Linked DNA regions of Homo sapiens: all the other regions are linked to region 6. Evidence: promoter capture Hi-C in 16 types of primary human blood cells and fetal thymus (Javierre and others, 2016). All regions are on one chromosome and are shown on one strand. Each heading gives the region's core, a stretch centred on a gene start or on the middle of the fragment in contact. The rest is flanking DNA. Distances are from core to core; before and after follow the strand shown.

The links. The method cuts DNA at HindIII sites, captures the fragments that hold promoters and counts their contacts. A CHiCAGO score of 5 or more calls a contact.
Region 1: a contact is called between a fragment that was not itself captured here and the fragment with the promoter of EDRF1 in region 6, in 1 of 17 cell types (activated CD4 T cells). The highest score is 5.3, in activated CD4 T cells.
Region 2: a fragment that was not itself captured here is called in contact with the fragment with the promoter of EDRF1 in region 6 in 3 of 17 cell types (naive CD4 T cells, non-activated CD4 T cells and naive CD8 T cells); the score reaches 7.1 in naive CD4 T cells.
Region 3: a fragment that was not itself captured here is called in contact with the fragment with the promoter of EDRF1 in region 6 in 1 of 17 cell types (total CD4 T cells); the score reaches 5.0 in total CD4 T cells.
Region 4: a fragment that was not itself captured here is called in contact with the fragment with the promoter of EDRF1 in region 6 in 1 of 17 cell types (naive CD4 T cells); the score reaches 5.4 in naive CD4 T cells.
Region 5: a fragment that was not itself captured here is called in contact with the fragment with the promoter of EDRF1 in region 6 in 4 of 17 cell types (activated CD4 T cells, non-activated CD4 T cells, naive CD8 T cells and 1 more); the score reaches 10.8 in activated CD4 T cells.

The regions. Positions count from the first base shown.
Region 1 is chr10:128,186,449-128,190,082 of GRCh38, reverse strand. No RefSeq gene overlaps it. Among named protein-coding and RNA genes, the nearest start is that of MKI67, 62 kb to the right of the region's middle. The HindIII fragment of the contact is 5,504 bases long and covers 1-3,634 here.
Region 2 is chr10:128,058,878-128,062,159 of GRCh38, reverse strand. PTPRE (protein tyrosine phosphatase receptor type E) reads right to left here. Exons shown (of 21, transcript NM_006504.6): 8 at 1,145-1,221; 9 at 445-481. It overlaps AS-PTPRE (lncRNA antisense to PTPRE protein-coding gene), which reads left to right. Exons shown (of 3, transcript NR_136150.1): 1 at 1-33; 2 at 1,316-1,473. Among named protein-coding and RNA genes, the nearest start is that of AS-PTPRE, 1.9 kb to the left of the region's middle. RefSeq lists an enhancer at 1-192. The HindIII fragment of the contact is 2,124 bases long and covers 442-2,565 here.
Region 3 is chr10:122,959,660-122,963,182 of GRCh38, reverse strand. All of the region lies in intron 1 of LOC124902519 (a long non-coding RNA gene), which reads right to left. Among named protein-coding and RNA genes, the nearest start is that of C10orf88, 7.2 kb to the right of the region's middle. The HindIII fragment of the contact is 2,169 bases long and covers 393-2,561 here.
Region 4 is chr10:128,133,288-128,136,960 of GRCh38, reverse strand. No RefSeq gene overlaps it. Among named protein-coding and RNA genes, the nearest start is that of MKI67, 8.7 kb to the right of the region's middle. The HindIII fragment of the contact is 242 bases long and covers 1,255-1,496 here.
Region 5 is chr10:128,210,781-128,214,064 of GRCh38, reverse strand. No RefSeq gene overlaps it. Among named protein-coding and RNA genes, the nearest start is that of LINC01163, 74 kb to the left of the region's middle. RefSeq lists a silencer at 1,898-2,047. The HindIII fragment of the contact is 1,932 bases long and covers 404-2,335 here.
Region 6 is chr10:125,717,953-125,721,283 of GRCh38, reverse strand. EDRF1 (erythroid differentiation regulatory factor 1) reads right to left here and starts at 1,575. Exons shown (of 25, transcript NM_001202438.2): 1 at 1,369-1,575; 2 at 1-80. The coding sequence starts at 1,476. It overlaps EDRF1-DT (EDRF1 divergent transcript), which reads left to right and starts at 1,791. Exons shown (of 5, transcript NR_033847.1): 1 at 1,791-1,862. RefSeq lists enhancers at 692-1,674, 1,790-1,869, 2,350-2,459. The HindIII fragment of the contact is 5,171 bases long and covers 1-2,373 here.

The DNA of each region.
Region 1 (3,634 bases), core at 510-3,009, 2.5 Mb before region 6:
ACTCCAGAACTTAAAATAAAAGTTGAAAGGGGCCGGATACGGTGGCTCATGCCTGTAATCCTAGCACTTTGGGAGGCCGAGGTGGGCAGAACACCTGAGGCCAGGAGCTCGAGACCATCCTGGCCAACATGGTGAAAACCCATCTCTACTAAAAATACAAAAATTAGCTGGGCGTGGTGGTGCACGCCTGTAGTCCCAGCTACTGGGGAGGCTGAGGCATGAGAATCACTTGAACCCAGGAAGTGGAGGTTGCAGTGAGCTGAGATCGTGCCACTGCACTCCAGCCTGGAGGCAGAGTGAGACTCTATCTCCAAAAGAAAAAAAAAAAAAAGTTGAAGGGAAAAAAAGTGCACTCTTGTGATGTTTGCACAGTAATGAAATCACCTACTGATACATTCTCAGAATGTGTCCCTGTTGTTAAGCAACACATGACTATATATATATAATATCAATATAGATATAGATATCACTCTATGTGTGAATACCAAATATTAATAGTAGTTATCAGTGCATAATGGACCTAGACATGTTGTTCTTGTTTTTCTTTCTACATTTTGTATTCTACAATAAAGATGTAGGACTTTTATAATAAGGCATTGTTTTCCTAAGCAGTTGAATTGGATGCAAGAGCAGGTGACAATCCTGTCACTCCCTGTTCCTGGCAGCCACCTCCACCGCACTTCACCAGATTCTTGACAGTGTCTCCTCAACATCTCCTGATCTCATCTCTTTCTCTCCACCCTCGCCTCCCTGCTCCACTCCAAGCCGGCATTGTCTCTTGCCAATACTATTACAACATGACATCGTCCCCTCTTTCCCACCATCTGACACCCACCCTGAAGCTAGAGTGATCCTCTAAGTAAAAACCACATGATGTGCCCCTCTCTTTCTTACCCCACTTGAGATCCTTTCATGGTCTCACTTTGCTAAGAAATAAAGTACAAAGTCTTTAGTGTGAGCTGAGGAGTCCTCCAGGATCTGACCCCAGGGCACCTCTAAGACCTCATCTCATGGGGGTGGTTAAAGGTGCATCCTCCAGAGTCTGAGGGCATAGGTTCAAGTCCTAGTTTTGCTGCTCACTCCACTTCCCCCTGCCCAGGTATTTCCATGTGTCCCCACCTGCCTTCTGCAGAGCTCTGGGGGCGCTGCCTAACACCCAGGAGCACTCAGCAAATGTTCGCTGTCACTGTCAATGTGTGAGCACCTTGCATATTGATTATTGCTGGGAAAGGAAAAGGGACAACTGAAATGATTCTTGGCTTTCTGATTGCATCATTAGCTGGAAAGCAGAGCTGTTACCAACAAAATTCCCCAAAGGAAACAGGTTTGATGAGTTCAGCTTTAGACTTCCTAAAGCACCTGGGGGGACAGAACTGGGGCTCAGGAAGGACATTCAGCTCAGAGATGGTCTCAAGTTGCCAGCTGACCAGTGGTTGTAAAAGCTGTGGTGTGGGCAAGATGATCCAAGGGAAATAGATGGGTGGGGTGAACAGAACCTCGGAGAACCAACATTCAAAGAAACTGGTGAAAAAAAAGAAACCCAAGAAAGAGGCCAGAGAAACTGGCCTGAAAGGGTTAAAAAAAAAAAAAAAGGCAAGGCTAGCACTTCAGAAGCAAGACAAAGAAGGGTGCCAAGGGGAGGGGGTGGCTGAAGAGCCAGGCACTTAGGTCTCACCAGTCCAGGAGCATCCATGTGTTGGGTGTAACAGGCTGGCAGTCACCAGAGCTCTCTCTTCTCAACGTTGGAATCCTCATGAGGTGGAAATGAGCACACACATCTAAGTATTTTTCTTGTCACATAGCTGGGATGCTTTGTTTTTTGGGTTTTTTTGTTGGGGGCAGTGGTTCTTGCTTAAATCTCACCTCTCTTATAAGACTCCTCCCAGCCATCCTTCTAAATAGACTACCTGTGGCCCCTCCATCCCTGGCATCCTTGATCCCTTGCTCAGTTCTGCTGTCCCTTCTTTCTACACCACGTTCACCTTCTAACCTGCTGCATGATTGACTGATTCCAGTCCTCATTTGTCTTCTGAGTCTGAGCTAGCTACAGGAGAGGAGGATGCTTTATTCGTTTGTTCGCTGACATAGTTTAAGCACTTAGAACAAGGTTGGTACCTCGTGGATGTACAATAAATATTTGTGGTCAAAACAGTTTTGATATACTACAGACCCACAACCAGGTCTCTTAGGAGTTGGCTGGGAAGACAGCCTATTACCCAAAACTTTTCCTGTTTGGAAAAACTCTCTGAAAACACCTCCAGGACCAGTCCTCTTCTCTTCTAAGCAATACTGATGAGAACAAATGCCTCTTTCATTTTCATTTGAGGCAGCTGCAGCTGCCTCGCCCCTGCTCCCGGATACACTTGGGCTTGAGGCGTGAATCTCTACAAAGCCCTGGTGGGGAGGAACCCGAGACTGTCCCCAGACAGCGACCTCCTGTGCAGCTGCCGTAATGAAGGAACAGACCTGAAAGGCAGAACCCACTGGGCTCGCTGCCCCCGAAACAGGGCGCAGAGGAGAGGGCTCCTCCCCATCTCCCTCAGCTGCACCTCGTCTTCTCTCAACATCAAAAACAGCTCTCCAACGATTTTTTTTAATGGAACAGAAAAACTGTTCTTTATCAAGATAGAGCAGGGCAGCCATGTGCTTTTCATAAAACTGATTACAGAGACCAGATGAAAGAAGTTGACGGGGTCAAGCTGCATTTTGCCTTCCCCCGTGTTCTAGGATGGGGAAATGTTTTTCATTATATTCGTTAAAAGTTCACCACCATCTGATAAGAATCTTGAGAAAGGGCATGCGTGTTGCTAAATTAGCCCTAAAAGGGGACAACTTAAAGTAAAATAAATCTGACTTAAACATGAGCTCAAGTTACCCACCTCGGACTTCCAGAAGGGATGGTTGCTAGGAAGCATTTGAAAGGGGCTCATCCAGCCAGCCACAGTGGCACCCAAGGACTAGGAAGCATGGCAGTCTCACCATAATTATAATAACTGGAACACATTGGCCGGGCATGGTGGCTCATGCCTGGAATCCCAGCACTTTGGGAGGCCAAAGCTGGAGGATCACTTGAGGCCAGGAGTTTAAAACCAGCTTGGGCAACATAGCCAGACTCCCATTTCTACAAAAAAAAAAAAAAATTAACTTTGCCAGCTGTGGTGGCATGCACTTATAGACCCAGCTACTGAGGAGGCTCAGATGGGAAGATCACTTGAGCCTTGTAGTTTGTGGCTGCGGTAAACTCTGATTACAGCATTGCACTCCAGCCTGGGTCACAGAGCAAGACCCTGTCATATAAAATAAAATAAAATAAAATAAAATAAAATAAAATAAAATACACACTCACATTTGCTTTTGTACATTTACAAGCTGTAAAGGCCTTTCACATTGACTTATGAATTATAAACCCTCTCATAGATTTTAAACCCTAGCTAGTTGTTTTTGCCATTACTCTATTAGTCAGTCATATATTCATTCAACACATACAAACTGAGGGCCAGGCCTCTGCTCATAAAAAGACACAGTGCCTGCTTTATGAAACAAGGTCCATCTGTGGCATAAAAACAAAACAAAACAGATAGTTTAGAAACAAATTTTTCTAATTGTTTAAAAAATCATCCAGAACTTCCCTCAG
Region 2 (3,282 bases), core at 254-2,753, 2.3 Mb before region 6:
GAGTGATGCTGGATTCAGTACTCAACACACAAGGTAGCCCTGTGCAAGGTGAAGGGCACGTTTTCACAGCTGAAGTATATTCTTAGTTATGGCCTTGATCTGAAAAGCTATTCACCCCACTAACCCCTCGCCCAAACTTGGGGAGCCATGTAGGGCTCAGCCAGCTGAGAGAAATTCAAGGTTATCTGACGCAAGTATTAACAAGCTGGAATGGCAGCCGGGGCCATTGCGTGCCCTGTGTTCACACCATATAGGTGTGGGAATAAGTGTGTGTTTCTCTGACTACACATATCCGTTGTGTGAATGGATATCTAACGTGTCTGTTAGGTGTAAACACACACACACAAATCCAGTATAAGTCCTTGGTCTTGTTGGCATACAGAGAAGGAAATAAGAGCTATTCACGTTACCAAAAATACGTTGAGAAATTAATAAAAAGCTTACCTTGAGCTGCTATGAATTTATTCTTCTCTTTGTAACCCTAGAAAAAATAACATCAGATTTATATTTTTTCAGAATTATCTTTGCTGAAAGGATTTGTTGGTGTTGCTGTTAGGAAAGCAGTACATATTCACCATGGAAAATTTGCAAAACACAGGAAAAGGTTAAGAAGGAAAGAAAACTCACCAGCAATTCCAGAAATAACAAATCCTACTTCATACGTCCCCTCTCTAGTCTGTTTTTCTGCCAAACCTTTCCCAGACTCACCCACAAGCAGACATGCAGACATTTCTGTCCTCTAATTGGGTGAACATGTACAATTTATTTTATGTTGTATTTTTAATGGGAATTTTATAATTGATATTAAATGATCTTTTAAAGATTAATACAAATCAAGTTCTAATAGTCCACTGCACATGGTTTTACCACAATCTGTTTAACTACCCATGCTCCCTGTTCTATTTGGTCAGGAATATACATAATGCTGTAGTGAACATCCTCTGTGATCATCTCTGTCTCTTGAATTCAAATTCCCAGATGCTGATGCCAGTGTGTAAAGCACGGGCAGTTCCGTACCCTTTGTGCTTGTGGCCAAACTGCCCAGAAAGGTTGTGACAATTTACACTCCGGGCACCAGACAAGAAAGTGCTTACTGCTCATGCCCCAGCTGGGCCAGGGGAACAAGAAACCTCTGCCCACTTACATCTATGTAGGAAGCATTGATGTAGTCTGAACAGGGAATTCCATCCAGTTGGCTCAGAATCACCCTAGAATGGTCATCTGGAAAAAAAACCCAAACAAAGCCAAGATATTAGGACCAGGAATCACAGTGCTGTCTCTTCCAGAAATCACAGTGCTGTCTCTTCATCTGCAGTGTCAGCTCCTGGGAAGGGCAAAAGCAGCTTCACAGCGACACCAGGGATGGCAGAGATGTTCTTCCTCAGCGTTCCCATGGAGAACACTAGTGTCCTGAGAGAGAATGCACCTGCTTTGGTGAACACTGACTGTCTCAGCTGTGGCATGACGACAAGGGTAGGATTTCAGCATCCAGGATGGGGGCTGCTGGGTCATTACATAGCAAGAATAGCAGAATGTGCCAGGCCCCTGGCAGTGCAAGGGCTGTATTTTATGAACCCTGCACTGGGCCCAGCCCCAGTGTTGCCAAGTGTGGGTGCACTTAAAAGAGCCCCAGGACAGGAGAACTGGGTCCACTCTCCCAGGCTTCCCAGGGAAATGAGCACCAGCCCCATGAGGACAAGTGGATGTGGGGGTCTAGGATTGGGGACTCTGACCCTCAGTCCCACCACCGGAGTCTGCCCCAGAGCTGGAAGGCGAGCACAGTGAGGAGCGTCTGGTAGATCCAGCCTGTTGCACAAGCAGTTTTCCGGGGTAGAAGGCTGACCGTGGAGTGCTCTGTGTGTGGGGTGTGTGTGTAGTGAGTGTGGTGTGTGTGTATTGTGTGTGTGGTGTGTGTGGTTGTGTATGTGTGTAATGTGTGGTGTGTGTGTGGTGTGTATGGTGCATGTGTGTAGTGTGTGTGGTGTATGTGTGGTGTGCATGTGTGTAGTGTGTATGCTGTGTGAATGTGTGCATGTGGGTTTGGTGTGTATGTGTAGTGTGTGTGTGTGTGTGTGTGTAGTGTGTGGTATGTGTGTGGTGTGTATGTGTGTGGTATGTGTGTGATATGTTTGTGTGGAGTGTGTGGTGTGTGTGTGGAGTGTGTATGTGTGTGCGTTATGTGCGGTGGGTGTGTAGTGTGTGTGTTGTGTGTGTGTGTGTGCATGTAGTGTGTGTGTACACACACGTCAGGGCTCCATCATGACTTTTGTGGGTTGTAGTCACTTCTGCCTTTGCAGCTTCCTCCATAGAACTATTAAGAAGGTTATCTTAGGACTGGGTTGGTCGCCAGTGAAAAGATGCACTCCAGAATGGGTTTTGCACGTTTTGTTTGTGATTTGAAGAGAAATGAAGACATTTTCATGGGCTTCTAAAAGTGCTGTGGGCCTGGCCCTGCTCCTCCTGTAACCTTTCCCAGGAACGTCCGGCTCGGCCAGGCTGGGACCAGGCTGGTTCTGAGGACGTTTATGCTGCACTGGGCACAGAGTCTGGCATGTGGTAGAAGCTTAGGGTCTCCTTCCTGAGTCATTACTGAGTAACTCTAGGTCCTCTCCCTGCTTTCTCTGCTTAGTCTCTGATCAGGGTGGGTTGTGTTTGTGGTGTTTGTGGCGTTTGTGATGGGGAGCCGGGCAGCCCCCAGGTCATGCCTTGTTTGTCTCACCTTCACCTGGAAGGCTGCCAGGTGGGCCACGGGCTGGTGGCCTGCGACCTCCGATGGTTGAGCCAGCTCTGTCGGGCTGCCAGCAGAGAAAGGGCGGGTATAGCTCTGAGAGACAGTCACAGCCCACACAGGGTGGCCAGGGAGTCAGACCCCAAACTTACAGTCCTGCAGACCTCACTGTGAGACCCTCCTGCTCAGGGACTGGCAATGCCCAGGCAGAAATAGCTCTGCTGAACACATATAACACTAGTTGAAAATAATTTGGAATGGTTTACGCTTTGAGGACAGCTATAGAAAAGCACAGGGTAAAATATAGCCTTCTGCTTAGATTTAGAATCTTGCAGTTTCTAAGAGCTTCCTGTCTTTTTATTCTAAAAAGTCACACTTCACATTCAAAACATTATTTCCTAAAATTATCAGCTGTTGGCACTTTTCCAGAAAAGAGGCCTAGCTTGCCATCTTTCTATAGTCTTTCTACAGGCAAAAGTCAAGCCTGCCTGACATGCAAAGCACCTTGACCTCTGACCCCAGAGCTCCCCAGGGCCACATGCCTGCCCAGAGCC
Region 3 (3,523 bases), core at 228-2,727, 2.8 Mb after region 6:
GACATTTAGGTTTCCAACATTTTAAAATGATTCTGAAATAAAAAATATTGAGTGTTTATATTTCTGTATTACTTAACCCATATCTTCAGGTTAAAATCTTAAGAAATAGGAGCAGAGTCAAAAGGCCAATGCATATGTAGTTTTGTTAGATATTGCCAAATTCCCCTCCATTAAAGATTATACCTGCTGATTGAAGCAATTTTCCATGTGCCCTTGGTGTCCCTTTGCCCTTAGTGTCCCTTTGCCCATAGTATGGCAATAATAAAATGCTGACTGCTCTTTACCTAAGTTATTTCTTAGGATTATGTTTCAATCAGCAATCTTGAAAGATGAAGTGCAGTGAGCAATTTTCAGAAATGAAATCATGTCTTCCTCCAGACAGAAAGCAAGCTTGCTTCTGTTTGCTACAAACGCAGTGGATCTTGCAAAAAAACAGTGTTCCTGTTTTGCAGTACAACTCCCTGAGTGTATAGGTACCCATCACTGGCCCCGTGTGTCATCACTGTGGGAGTAAAGGAATGGGAAATAGAAAAAGCCGACATGAAGCTGTGGTTATTGCTTTGCTGTGAGTAATAAAGTCCTTAGTCTCTGACCCAGGAGTCTTTTATCTTCTGCCACTAATCATGAAAGAGTAACAGCTTCTAGCTGATTAGCTTGTGAGTAAGCTAAGTATATAGGGTAAAATCTCAGAGCTTATATAGTTCATGACAGTTTTGGTGATGATGATGATGAAGACAGAATGCAGTTGCTTTCTAGAAAAGAAAGAACAAAAGGTCCTGAGGGCCAAGCTAGAAGATTCAAAACTACCCAAGACCTAGAAGCAAATGCTTTTGTCCAAGTCGTAGGTAGGTGAAGGGTAAAAGTCCACCAGCATGCTATCTGTTAAATTTATATTGGCTGAGTGGTAAGAGGCAGGATTGAAACAAGGTGCCTAAATGGCAACTTGGTTGTTGCTTCTTTGAGTGGGAAGAGGAAGGAATGTTATCAGGACAAAGGGACAGCAATCCCTATTTACCCCAGCTGATAGGCAATGTGGTTGTGGCTACTGTGCCATGGAGTGCCCAAAGCTCAAATAAGTGGTGTTATCAATGAAGATATACAGCTTGGGCAGAGGTAAAGCAGTTCATTTTGTGTGCCTGAGCAGGCAGTTGCTTGCTGCTTTTTTTTTTTTTTTTTTTTTTTTTTTCAGACACGGTTTCACTGTGTCACTCAGGCTGAAGTGCTGTGGAACGATCTTGGCTTACCACAACCTCCACCTGGGCTTAAGAGATCCTCCTAGCTGGGACCACAGGCACACACCACCATGCCGGCTAATTTTTGTATTTTTGGAGAGATGAGGTTTCACCATGTTGCACAGGCTGGTCTCCAACTCCTGGGTTCAAGCAATCTGCCTGGCTCAGCCTCCCAAAGTGATGGAACTACAGGTATGAGCCACCATGCCCAGCCTGAATCTTAAAGTAAATCTTGCTTCCTGGCACTGAGTGACTCTGCCCCTTTGTGCAGCCTTTTGCCTCTCCCTTTACCTAAACCTCAGCTGCTTTAAGGAAAAAATTGAGTATGCTAAGGAACTTTGCAGAGAAAAGGGATTCAAACTTTTATCACTCTGTTGGGTACAAGTACTCATGTTTGGACTAACCTGGTCTTTGGTGTCATTGCCATTAATTATAGGGGGCAATAAATGAGCCAAAAAGCAATCCTCATCCCCAGTGGAGATGAGGCCAACTTTCCTCACATACAAACATATAACCTGAAGGGGCACAGATCACTCCTATTAAAGATTTGTTGTTAAAGTTGATTTAAATCACAATTATATTAGATTGGTTAAGTCACATAGGCATTGTCACTGAATAAGTTCAGCTTCAGTTGTCATCACTCTGTCCCTTCTGATCCTCAGAGAAGCAATGATGTTGGTAGTAATGCTTCATGCTGGAATAGTCATTCTGCTTTGAACTCAGGGTAGGGCTACTTGACCCACCTCACCTTACTGGCTGTTCTTTCAGTGCTGTCACTTAGAGCCCTGGGCAATGCATGAGGTTCTTGCCTTACCTATTAGGTCTTCTGACTACCGCATACGCTGCAGGAAGTACCCAGCACCTACTTCCAATTTCAGCCTCAGCTAAATTTTCCCATGCTGTTCCTAAGACAGCTTTCAATTCACTTTGATCCAGATTCCTGTTCCAAACATGTTAATTGTCCTTAAGGGGAATTGTATTCATCCGGGAATAAGTGAGCAGAAACAGCAAGGTGACAGACAACTCTGAGTCTAAATACCCTGATATCTATAATGAATGACATCCTCAAAAGGACACTCAGACATCTTAGAAAATCTGAGATTCCACCTCTGCCATCCCCAGTATCTTTAGAAGAAGGCTTTCTCCTCTAGTTTCTTTCATAGTATTCTACCAACTCAGCAATTGGGTTCTGTAATTGGTAACAGAAATTGCTAACAGTCTAGCTGCCGAAGCCCAGATTTTCTTAATCACAGCAATGGCAAGTAAAACTCCACCCCTCACTACTTTTGCCCATCTTTTCCCTTCTTTACTAATTTATAGAGCTAAGCTTTCTGAAACTCTAGTTACAAAAAGAATTTCACCTTTAAAGATACCTTGGATGGCCAGGCACAGTGGCTCACGCCTGTAATCCAGGCACTGTGGAAGGCCCAGGTGGGTGGATCACTTGAGGCCAGGAGTTTGAGACCAGCCTGGGCAACATGGCAAAACCCCATCTCTACTAAAAATACAAAAATTAGCCAGGAATGGTAGTGCATGCCTGTAGCCCCAGCTACTCGGGAGGCTGAGGCACGAGAATCACTGGAACCCAGCAGGCAGAGGTTGCAATGAACCAAGATCGCGCCACTGCACTCTAGCCTGGGCGACAGAGCTAGACTCTGTTTAAAAAAAAAAAAAAATTACCTCGAACTGTTTCACCTTTGCTTTGCCAGCACGACTTATTCACAACCTCTGCAAAAATCTCACTTCTAGTTGCTGAGATGGTCTAAAACATGTTATTTATACCTTAGTAGACATTTAATAAATGTTTGTCCCCTTGGCCGCCAAAAATTCACGGGCCTGTGAAAATGAACTTTCCTATTTTACTCTCCAGTGAGGTATTGTTTACACCCATTTCAACAACTCCTCCTACAAAATACAGGTCCATATAAAATTTATAAGCCAATTGGCTCCTTTTTTTTAAAACTCAACATCAATGTCATTTTCAAGTCACCAGTCTGATCTTCTTATTGAATTTTTATAAAAACGTAATAAAGGTATCCTAAAATGTGAGCCAGATACTCAAACATTACTATATCTTTAACTAATCTGACAATATCTAGTGTTTATTTCCCCAAGATTACTCTGTTCCTGGTATTGTGAGGTTAAAAGCAATTATGAAATCCGCTGAAAGCGGGTAGACCTAGAAGAATCATCAATCTCAGTAACCCTAAGAACCACCAAAATGTCTGAGGAAAGAACAAAGCTACAAGATCCATCTCTGCTAATGGAGGATCTGCATATTATCAATCCCT
Region 4 (3,673 bases), core at 126-2,625, 2.4 Mb before region 6:
TATTCATTTTGTTTGTTAATATCCATTCTCAGAAGAGCACAAAGAAAGCAGCCAATAGCTGAAGATAGGGGCTTATCTGTAAACTTCGTAGTCTGATAATGGGGTGAGGATAGGGCATAATTCAGACAAAGCTTCTGTCTGCATTTCTTGATTCTAAAATGTTTTCAGCTCAAAAAATTTTATGCCACTGTGGTATAATTTGGATCCATTCAAAAAATGAGAAATTGGACTTAAATATCAAATTCAAGGATTTGAGTACAGATAACCAGGCCAAAGAGGTGATCTGGTCCTAAAAGAACTTACTTTGTGGAGAAGGCTGAATGTAAAACTCTGCATGAGTCTTATAGTTTCAATTATCAGGAAGCAAACACTCACGTAACTAAACCAAGTCATGAAATAGAACATTTCTTCCAGAGGCTTCTTCCATCCTGTCTTCTAACCGCGACTTCTTTCTCTCATCACAGAGTCTGTCACTGTGGCTTTTATAACATTATAAAAATACTTTGAGTTTTATTTTTATTTTTAAATTTATTTATTTATTTTTTGAGATGGAGTCTCGCTCTGTCACCCAGGCTGGAGTACAGTGGTGCAATCTCCGCTCACTGCAAGCTCCGCCTCCCGGATTCACGCCGTTCTCCTGCCTCAGCCTCCCGAGTAGCTGGGACTACAGGCGCACGCCACCATGCCCGGCTAATTTTTGTATTTTTAGTAGAGACGGGTTTTCACCATGTTAGCCAGGATGGTCTCGATCTCCTAACCTCGTGATACACCCACCTTGGCCTCCCAAAGTGTTGGGATTACAGGCGTGAGCCACCATGCCAGACCTTAAATATTTTTAAATTATTATTATTATTATTTGAGTCTCACTCTGTCACCCAGGCTGGAGTGCAGTGGCACGATCTTGGCTCACTGAAACTTCTTCCTCCTGGGTTCAAGCAGTTCTCCTGCCTCAGCCTTGTGGAGGAATAGTTAAATATTAAATGTGAACTCATTTGGTTGTGGACAGAAACAATGGTCACCAAGTCTCGGAACAGGTTGTGTGAGCCCCTTAAGGCGTTCATCCAGCACTGTTTCAAAGAAATCCCTATTTCAATCTATTCCTATACGTTAGTTATTGAAAAACAATAGATAATTGCAAAAACAAGTTGACCTTTTTGTGTTCCTTGAGCCCCGTCACGAAGGGCCCTCGTAACTGGACCTCATGCCAAACAACTCGTTACAAAAAGAGCTAGGGTCTCAGACCACGCAGAAGCTTCATGAGACCCCTCCTTGTCTGCATGGACAAGTGGTCGACTCTGGATCCCAAGATGTTGCTTCCCAGTTTGGTGGTGAATCCTCCATAGTCTGGTGAGTGTAAGTATCTTTTTCCCTTCTCTTCCCATTGCAATTTGCTTATTGTAACAATATCCTTATTATATTGATTTTCTTATTATATCATTTGCTTATTATGTCATTTCCTTATTATATCTGCATTGCCATTTACATGGGGTAAAGCTTGTTTACCCTTTAAAGTATTGTGTGTGTGCCATTTCTTCTCCCCTCATGCATTTCCTGCACAGAACATCAGCCTTCCCAGTAGCTGGGACTACAGATGCCCGCCACCACAGCTGGCTAATTTTTGTATTTTTAGTAGAGACGGGGTTTCACCATGTTGGCCAGGCTGGTCTCAAACTCCTGACCTCAAGTGATCCTCCTGCCTCAGCCTCCCAAACTGCTGGGATTACAGATGTGAGCCACTGTGCCCAGCCTGAGTTTTATTTTTAAACATGCATCTTTGAACACTATATTTTGTCTGACATTACTAAACTTCACAAAAATTAAATAATAAAGTATGTAATTATGTCCGATGTCTCTAGTCCTTATGAGAATCATAAAATATTGATTGTAGTTGTCATTTGTTTACATTAACTATTTGATTGAAATAATATACCTGCCTGGTGCAGTGGCATATGCCTGTCATCCCAACACTTTGGAAGGCCAAGGATAGGAGGATCACTTGAGGCCCAGGGCTCAAGACCAGCCTGGGCAACACAGTGAGACTCCATCTCTTCAAAAAATTTAAAAATTAGCCAGTCATGATGGTGTGTATTTGTGGTCCCAGCCACTCAGAGGCTGAGGTGGGAGGATCACTTGAGCCCGGGAGTTTGAGGTTGCAGTGGTCTATGATTGTGCCAATGCACTCCAACCTTGGCAACAGAGCAAGACCTTGTCTCTGAAAAAAAAGAAAGGAAGAAAAATAAATAATACACATAATTATACACAATTTTATCGTTCTGGATGGACATTTCAATAGCTTCTAGTTGTTGAAATGTGTTGGCATTTGCTTTGTGATCAGATATGGCTGCAATGTTTACTAATCTGTGTATTATGTGTTTGAAAAGAATGTGTGTTCTACAACTGTTGGTTGCAGTCTTCAATCTATATATGTCAATTAGATTCAAATCTATATTAGTTTTATTTATTTATTATTTCTATTTAGAAGGTACGAGTACTTTGTTTTCAACAAAATTTTTACAATGAATATCGTTCATTTGAAAACATAGCCTTTGTCTCACAAATCATAACCCTTTGTTATTTTTACTATTTGTTATTTTTACTATTTGTGACTGTGTTGCTGTGTGCTACATCTGTCTGTCTGCTGTGAGAGGGATAGTGGTATAAATAAGCCAGGCAACTTCCTGGGGTTTTAATATCCAAGGAACAGAAGGCTGGTCTGGGGTACAAGAAAAACGCTCTGACAGTTTCTCGGGATCGCGTGTCCTGCATATAATAGGTATGGAAATGTCAAATGCACATCTTTACTCTGGAAAGCAGAAGATATGTAGAAACCGGGCAGCTGCCTTATGGTGAGGAAAGCTGTTGCTATTATACCTGCCTGTCTTACTGACTTTATAATAATAGATTGTCCCAGTGTTAAGTAATTGGTTTTGACCACTATTTTGTGTTGTTAAGACGTACTTTCCTTCCAGGGGGCATAGCTGTTTCTGGAAACAACACACTGTAAGATGCTTTTCTTAAACCATTAATAGTCGAGGAAATGTTGCCACTTGAATCTCCATCTCAGTAAAAGTGGGAATTGACGTGGTGATGGTTGTACTGGATTAGAACCATGCCAGGCACCCAGGGTTTGATCTTCCTGGGTTGTATAAATCGAGCGGTTGTTTGTACTGCGATGCTTTGGGAGACTTTTTTATTTATTTATTTATTTAGTTAGTTAGTTAGTTAGTTAGTTATTGAGAAGCTTTGGGAAGCTTTGAGATTAAACTGCTGAAAAGGAATCTTGTTTGATTTCATGGCTGATGTTAAAATGGAAGAGTTGCTGTGCTTCTCATTGTAGCCCATGGAAGCTACTTACCAAACAGCCACATAAAGATAAACACATTTAGCTAAAAAGAAAGAAGAAAGAAAGAAAGAAAGAAAGAAAGAAAGAAAGAAAGAAAGAAAGAAAGAAAGAAAGAAAGAAGGAAAGAGAGAGAGAGAGAGAGAGAAAGAAAGAAGGAAAGAAAGAAAGAAAAGAAAGAAAGAAAGAAAGAGGAGGTAGCAAAGTTTTTCACAGAATGTCTCATCCAGCAAAATATTTTGAGTACATACGACCTGTTATGCACATCTACTGAGGCATTCATATATGTGTAACTTTATACATTACTGTGATTATTATTACTACCATAATATC
Region 5 (3,284 bases), core at 120-2,619, 2.5 Mb before region 6:
TTAGCTAAATGAATAAAAGGCAACCCATTAATATTTACCGGAAGCCGGGAACTGTACAAAGACCCGCAAGTCCATAATTATACTGCAATTTTAGGTGGGGGCCTGGGCAGCAGGTGGCCACTCTCCTCCACCACAGTGGCTTCCACTGCTGCCCCCTCCGCGGAAAGTGAGATAATGTCCACGTCCCTCCTCGAGGTCTAGGGGCAGCACACCTGACTACCTTGCTTTGTCTTCCAAGTGAATGTCAAACCTGCCCTGCCTGGGGGATGGTTGGTGGTGAATAGTCTGCATCCGATCAGAAATTGGCAGCCAGTCCCCACTGCAGGCTCCTAGAAGAGGTGGGGGGTGTTTGCAGGGGGCGAAGATCTGCTGGAATGTGGAGAAAGAAGGGGCCTGAGAAGCTTCTTCCTTGGTCCTCATGGAGCATGGAGCCAAGGCTCTGCCTAGCAGGGGTGACCGCAGCCTCGCCCGCATTTCTAGCAGAATGAACACAGTTCCAACGGCCTCCACCCCTAGGGAAGACACGAGTCTGATCATCTCTCTGTTGAGTTACGTGGGGTGGGGACAAGTCTCTGGACAGGTAGAACCACCAGCCTCTGGGCAATGGGAAGCGTTCCGGGCCCTGCATCCTTCTCCTCAGGTGCTTTCATATAGCAGGGATTCCATGACAGAATCCTGGGACAGGTTGGAAGTATTTTTGCCAAGATAAGTTGTGGAAATCAGCTGTGGGGCTGCACATTCTGGCAGCTCTCCTGACATGCTGCATTAATGCGTAAGTTTCCTTGCTCCCAGATTCCAGGCTGAATTTTAAAAGAATGAAATAAGTCTTCCCACTCTCCAACCGAACAACTCTGTCCCTGCTTGGAGGAAACAACACTGAAGACCGTGAATAGAGAGAAGGGTCACTCTGGCTAGCTCATTCTGTGACCCTCCCAGGAAGGGCTCCTAGTCTGCCCCATCCACCCACCGCCCGGTGGGGCCAATCCCAGAGCCGTCACTCCCAAGGCAGCAGCCTTCCATTCCTCTTATTTCCACCACTGCACGGAAAGGAGGCCAAGATCTAACCAATTCCTGGGAAGCTGCGCTGGTGTCTCCACAGCCGACACACAGCCTCCTTCTCAGGCAGTGGCTGCGTTTTCTTTCCCCGTTTGTTGTGCCTGTCTCCTGGGGCACCATAACTAAGTCCCACAAACTGGGTGGCTTAAAACAGAAATTCATTGTCTCACAGCTTAGGAGATAGAAGTCCAAAACCAAGGCGTCAGCAGGGCCTTGCTTCCTCTGAGGCCTCTAGGAGAGGACGCTTCCTGCCTCTTCCAGCTCCTGGTGGCACCAGGAGCTCCCTGTCTTGTGGCCACACGACTCCAGTCTCTTCCTCCACCGTCACACAGCGTTCTCCCTGTGTGTCTCTGTGTCTTTGCAGGGCTGTCTTTTTATCAGGGCACCAGCCATTGGGTTAAGGACCCAGGGACCCACTCTACTCCCGTATGACCTCATCGTAACTAATTAAATTTGCAAACAACCTGCTCAAAACAAGGTCCCGTTCTGAGGTGCTGGCTTAGGACTCGGACATATCTTTAGAGGGGTGGGAGGGGAGATGCAATTCAACCCACAGCAAAGCAGTGGGGCTCTGGCTTGAATGCAGCCTCTGTCATGAGCGACCTGATTCCACCTCGCACCCTCCACTGATGTGAGCCATCTCTCCCTGGATGCTAGTTACAGCCTCAAAGAACGCCCCTTGGGGCTGCAGACAGAACTCCGCCCTCATGGAAGAAGCTGCCGGCAAGTGCTGGGCAGAGGGACTAGCTGGGAGGAAATGAAAGCAATTCCTCCAAGATGCTGTCCTCGGGGAGCAGCCTGGCCACCCTGCCTGAAATTGCTGCCGCTGACACCTGCAAGCAAGAAGCTCCTCCGGCCGGGGCTGGCTCCGCCCACTTCTCAGGCCCCGCTGGGCCTCCCGCGGCCGCAGACGCGCGCCCTCTGGCGGCCCCGTCTGGACGCACACGGCCTTGTCCATAGCCCGGGCTAGATGAACTCCCAGCCCCGCCGGCTGGTGACACAGGTGGCACCTCTGCCATCGTGGAAAACCTGCAAACTGACTTTTCAAACTAGCCACCCCGTCCCTCTCAGGCAATACCAAACAGCTGGTAATTCATGCAGAGCAAACTACCACGTCTTAATAACGGAGAAGAGCCCCGGCTCCTAAACGGGACTGTGGAAGGCCGACTCCCTGGGCCGCAGCAGCAGAATTTTATTTCTCAGGACTTTCATGGGCTCTCAATCAGGCCACCGCAGCCACCTCATACATCTTAATAAACCTTACATCAGAGAGAAAGCTTTGAAACGAAATTGTCCAGTAATACGCACTTTCCAATCGAAACACATGGGAGTCTTTAAATATTTACCGCACATAAATAAAGCATGCTATGTAGCTGGCGCTTCTTAGCACCTACGCATGCCACGTATCAATGGACGCTGGATGTCAATATTGATGTATAAATAATAATATTAAGCACAGAAATACACCGCGCCGGGAGAGGTCTAATCGCACTGTCCCCTGGAAATAAACGTTTCTCAGGGCTGTTTCTGAAGGTGGGATATTTGTCTCCCTCCTCACTTGACCCTGAGGGGATGGAGGGCAAGGTGGAGAATGCCCTGAGCAGACACCGGTGCACCGCAGTGCACAGCCAGGGGTGCCACTCCTCCACCTCCGGAGAGACCGGGCGAGGCATCCGCAACCGCGTCAGAGCCTGGCAGCGGCCTGGCAGCATCCCCTGCCCTGGGCCTCGCTAAGGTTCCATGAGGGGTGCGTGGAGCTGGAGAAGAAAGGTGCGAATTCTGCGCTTCCCCGAGGTAGCCCCGGGCGAGCAGGGGGCCAGCTCCAGAGCCTCGGGCCACTGCGCCATTCCTCCCCCTGCGGGAGCTGCTGCTCCAAGGCTGTCCCTGCTGCTCCCGGGGGAAAGGGCAGGGCCGCCGCGGTGGGCGCTGAGCAGGTGGGCTCCAGTCGCCCCTGACTCCCAGGCTGCGCTCCCTGCCAGGCCCGGAGGATGCGCCCGGGGGAGGCGCCCTGGAGGCCGCGCGGGCACCGGAAGCCTGGGGGTGGGCCCCACCCGCGGACAGGTCCTGCTCTTCAGGCTGAGAGTGTGGGCATCACCCGCGAAGACGCCCCGTGGGACAGCAGGGGCGCTGTTCACCCCACCTGTGGGATCGCAGCGGGGGTTGGAGGGAAGGGGGCGTCAGAGATCCCCGGGGCCCCAGGGGTGCCCGGGGCCCCGCGGGAACGCGCA
Region 6 (3,331 bases), core at 326-2,825:
GCTGTTCGAGGAGGGGCAGAAGAGTATTTCACCACAGCTCGGCTCTTCACTTCATTGCCTCCAAGAAATAAAGCTGATCCCTAATTAACACATTGGGTGAAACTTTAATGAAAATTACTAAGAACGAAAAATCTCACCTTTATAAAAAGAAAACAAGAACCTGTCACACCAGGCTTCACAAGGAACGTATGCCACATGTTACTAACAGCACTTAATAAATTTGAGCATAAATGGTAACATTTACTTAGTTCTTTTACACCAACTTCAAAGAAAAAAGATGAGTCAAGGAGTATGATGGTTATGGTTATCAGCTAGAAAATGGACCACCCACATCTCTTTTAAAATGTATTCATGTAAAGTGGAGAAGCAGAAACCAAGGAGACTCAATGGTATCATGTTAACTAGATGCAAACTTTAGTAAAGCCTATTTTCAGTATTAAAGATGTATTTTAATTCTTTTTTTTTTTTTTTTTGAGACGCAGTCTTGCTTTGTCGCCCAGGCTAGGGTGCAGTGGAGCAATCATGGCTCACTGCAACCTCGGCTTCTGGGGTTTACGCCATTCTCCTGCCTCAGCCTCCCTAGTAGCTGGAATTACAGGCGTGCACTACCACGTCCGGCTAATTTTTGTATTTTTAGTAGAGACAGGGTTTTGCCATGTTGGCCAGGCTGGTCTCGAACTCCCCGACCTCAGGTGATCCACCCACCTCGGCCTCCCAAAGTGCTAGGATTACAGGCGTGAGCCACCGCGCCCGGCCAAAGATGTATTTTAATTTTAATAACACATCATTCATAAAATAGTCTGGTAGAACATTTGGGCTTTTTGTTTTAATGCAAATATTTAGTAATCGATGCATCGGTTCATGCATGCATGCATGGTTCAAATACTCTTGAGTCTCTAACTTCATAGAAAGGCATTGGGGGTTCGTTCCTCACAGCCTGCACTTGCACACTCCCAAAGCAAGTTCGGCGTCTGGGTTCAATATTCTAACCTTTCACGCAGTACCTCTTCTGCATGGCAAACATTTTACACCCTTTGTGAATTAGTTCGGTCTCATTCTCGGCGAGTCACTACCTGGCACCGTTTCTTCCCTCCTGCTTTGCACGACTGTGCCACGTTTTGGAACGACATATTTACATGTACCCTCCTTGAGAGGAAAGATCGTATCTAATTCACCTGTCGGCTACCAGAACTGCTTTTAATACGAATACCTGCCGACTGGAGCATGGACTTCAACTCCCTGTTTTGGGGGTGTCAGGGAAACATGGAGAAGCCTCCAGAATCTGCCGGGAACCGTGGCATCCCTCCCCGGTGGAGCGGGTCCTCCGCTCCCACATCCCTGGCAGGTCCCCCTCCGCGGAGGACTCACCTGTGCAGAAGATTCCTCGGATTCTCCCTGGGACAGGAGGCTGAGCCCTCCTCGAGCGGCGGCCCCGGCCGGCGGACCCTCGGCTCCGGCCTCCTTGGCATCCCCCATCACTTCGATCCAGGGCAGGCGATACGACGGGGGAGCGGAGGAGCAGCAGCAGCAACGCAGGCCCAAAGCAGGGTAAGCGCCAGAGACGCTCCGCGGACCGCACTTCCGGTCTCTGCCAGGAAGAAGTAGCTGTGACTCGCCATTAAATCTCGCGATCTTTGTCCCGAAGGCCCGGCCCCGCCTCCCGCTGCGGGTGCCACCTTCGCGGCCAGGGCGGGAATTGTAGTGCGCCTGCGCTTGTCCGAACCTCTTCGGGAGACTACTTCTCGCGGTATCTGACTCCTAGGCTCCGCCCTCTGCACGCCGCTCACGGTATCTGACGCTCAGGCTCCGCCCCCTGCATGTCTTTGTTGGCAAACAGTTCTGGGGGTCGTCCGATCCTGCAGGTAGTGTCCGCGTGGGAGGGGAGGTGCAGCCGTCAGCGCTGCCGGCGGCTCCCGTTACGTGAATTAGTGAGAGGTTCAAACTTCTTCCCCAGGCTTCAGTGTCACATCTTTTCACACGGGCACCCCGAGGGCCCGGACTGGAAAGGCGAGCCAGCCATCTCGAGACTGGGCGCTCCTGCCCGCCTTTTAGTGCCCATGTGGCCCCATCCTGGGTGTGGGAGCGGCGGGGCTTCCGGGGAGGGCGCTGGGACGCGCGGACGAGGCCCTCCCCGTTTAGGGAATGGGTGGCTTTCGGAGTCTTCTGGGGGCCCGGCATGCCCGCTGCTTGCGGGGCGTCCCAGGTGGTGCAGGACCCGTGAGACGCTGAACCTGGGGCCTCGTAACGCCTAGGTTTCCATTCGGGCGCTCTGGATGGGTCCGAGACTCGGCATTTCTCACAGGTTCCCAGGAAACGATGCCAGCGCTTTGAGTAGCGAAGAGGTGGAGAAATAGCCCGGGCCGTTTGCAAGCTTTGAAGGTCCAGGCTCTCTTTCACACTCCTCAGTGTCATCTCAAACTGTCAAACGCAGCCACATCCGTTATACAATACATGTTTTGTAGTAAAAGTGTTTTGTTGTGCCGTAAGATACAGAAAGTGTTTTTAAAAATTAACTTGGCTCTTGCAATTTGGCTGTCTCAATTTGTAATTCACGTTTGGCTCTTACAACTCACTGTCCTGTCCGTTTTCAGGAATGCTCCTGATGAGTAAGCATTCAACTCACAAATTGCTTTCAAATGTAACAAAACAATTTTATGAATTAAATTTAACAGGCCGGGCGCGGTGGCTCACGCCTTTAATCCCTGCACTTTGGGAGGCCGAGGTGGGCAGATTGCCTGAGGTCAGGAGATCGAGACCAGCCTGACGAACAGGGTGAAACCCCATCTCTACTAAAAATACAAAAATTAGCCAGATGTGGTGGTGGGCGCCTGTAATCCCAGCTACTAGGGAGGCTGAGGCAGGAGAATCGCTTGAACCTGGGAGGCAGAGGTTGCAGTGAGCAGAGATGGCAACACTGCGCTCCAGCCTGGGCGATAGTGAGACTCTGTCTTAAAAAAATAATAATAGTGAATTAAATTTAACAGTTAATTTGATATAATAGTGTATTTTGTAGACATTTACTTCAACATGTATTGATTTTGATTTTTATCATTTCATTTGAATATTGCAGCCAATAATTCTTTTTTGGTTTTTGCAAGTTATGCATTGTTTTTTATGGTGAAAAGTTGAACATAATATCTAACACTAGGAGGAGGATAGTCAAATTTGGTTTTGGTAGAAAATAAACCCTGTGCAACCATAAACTTGTTTTTCAGGAATATTTAAGAACATTTAAATTGCATATCATATAATGTTAAGTGATAAGTGAAATTTTAAAAAGCCAATATGCAGCCTAGCGCGGTGGCTCACGCCTGTAATCCCAGCACTTTGG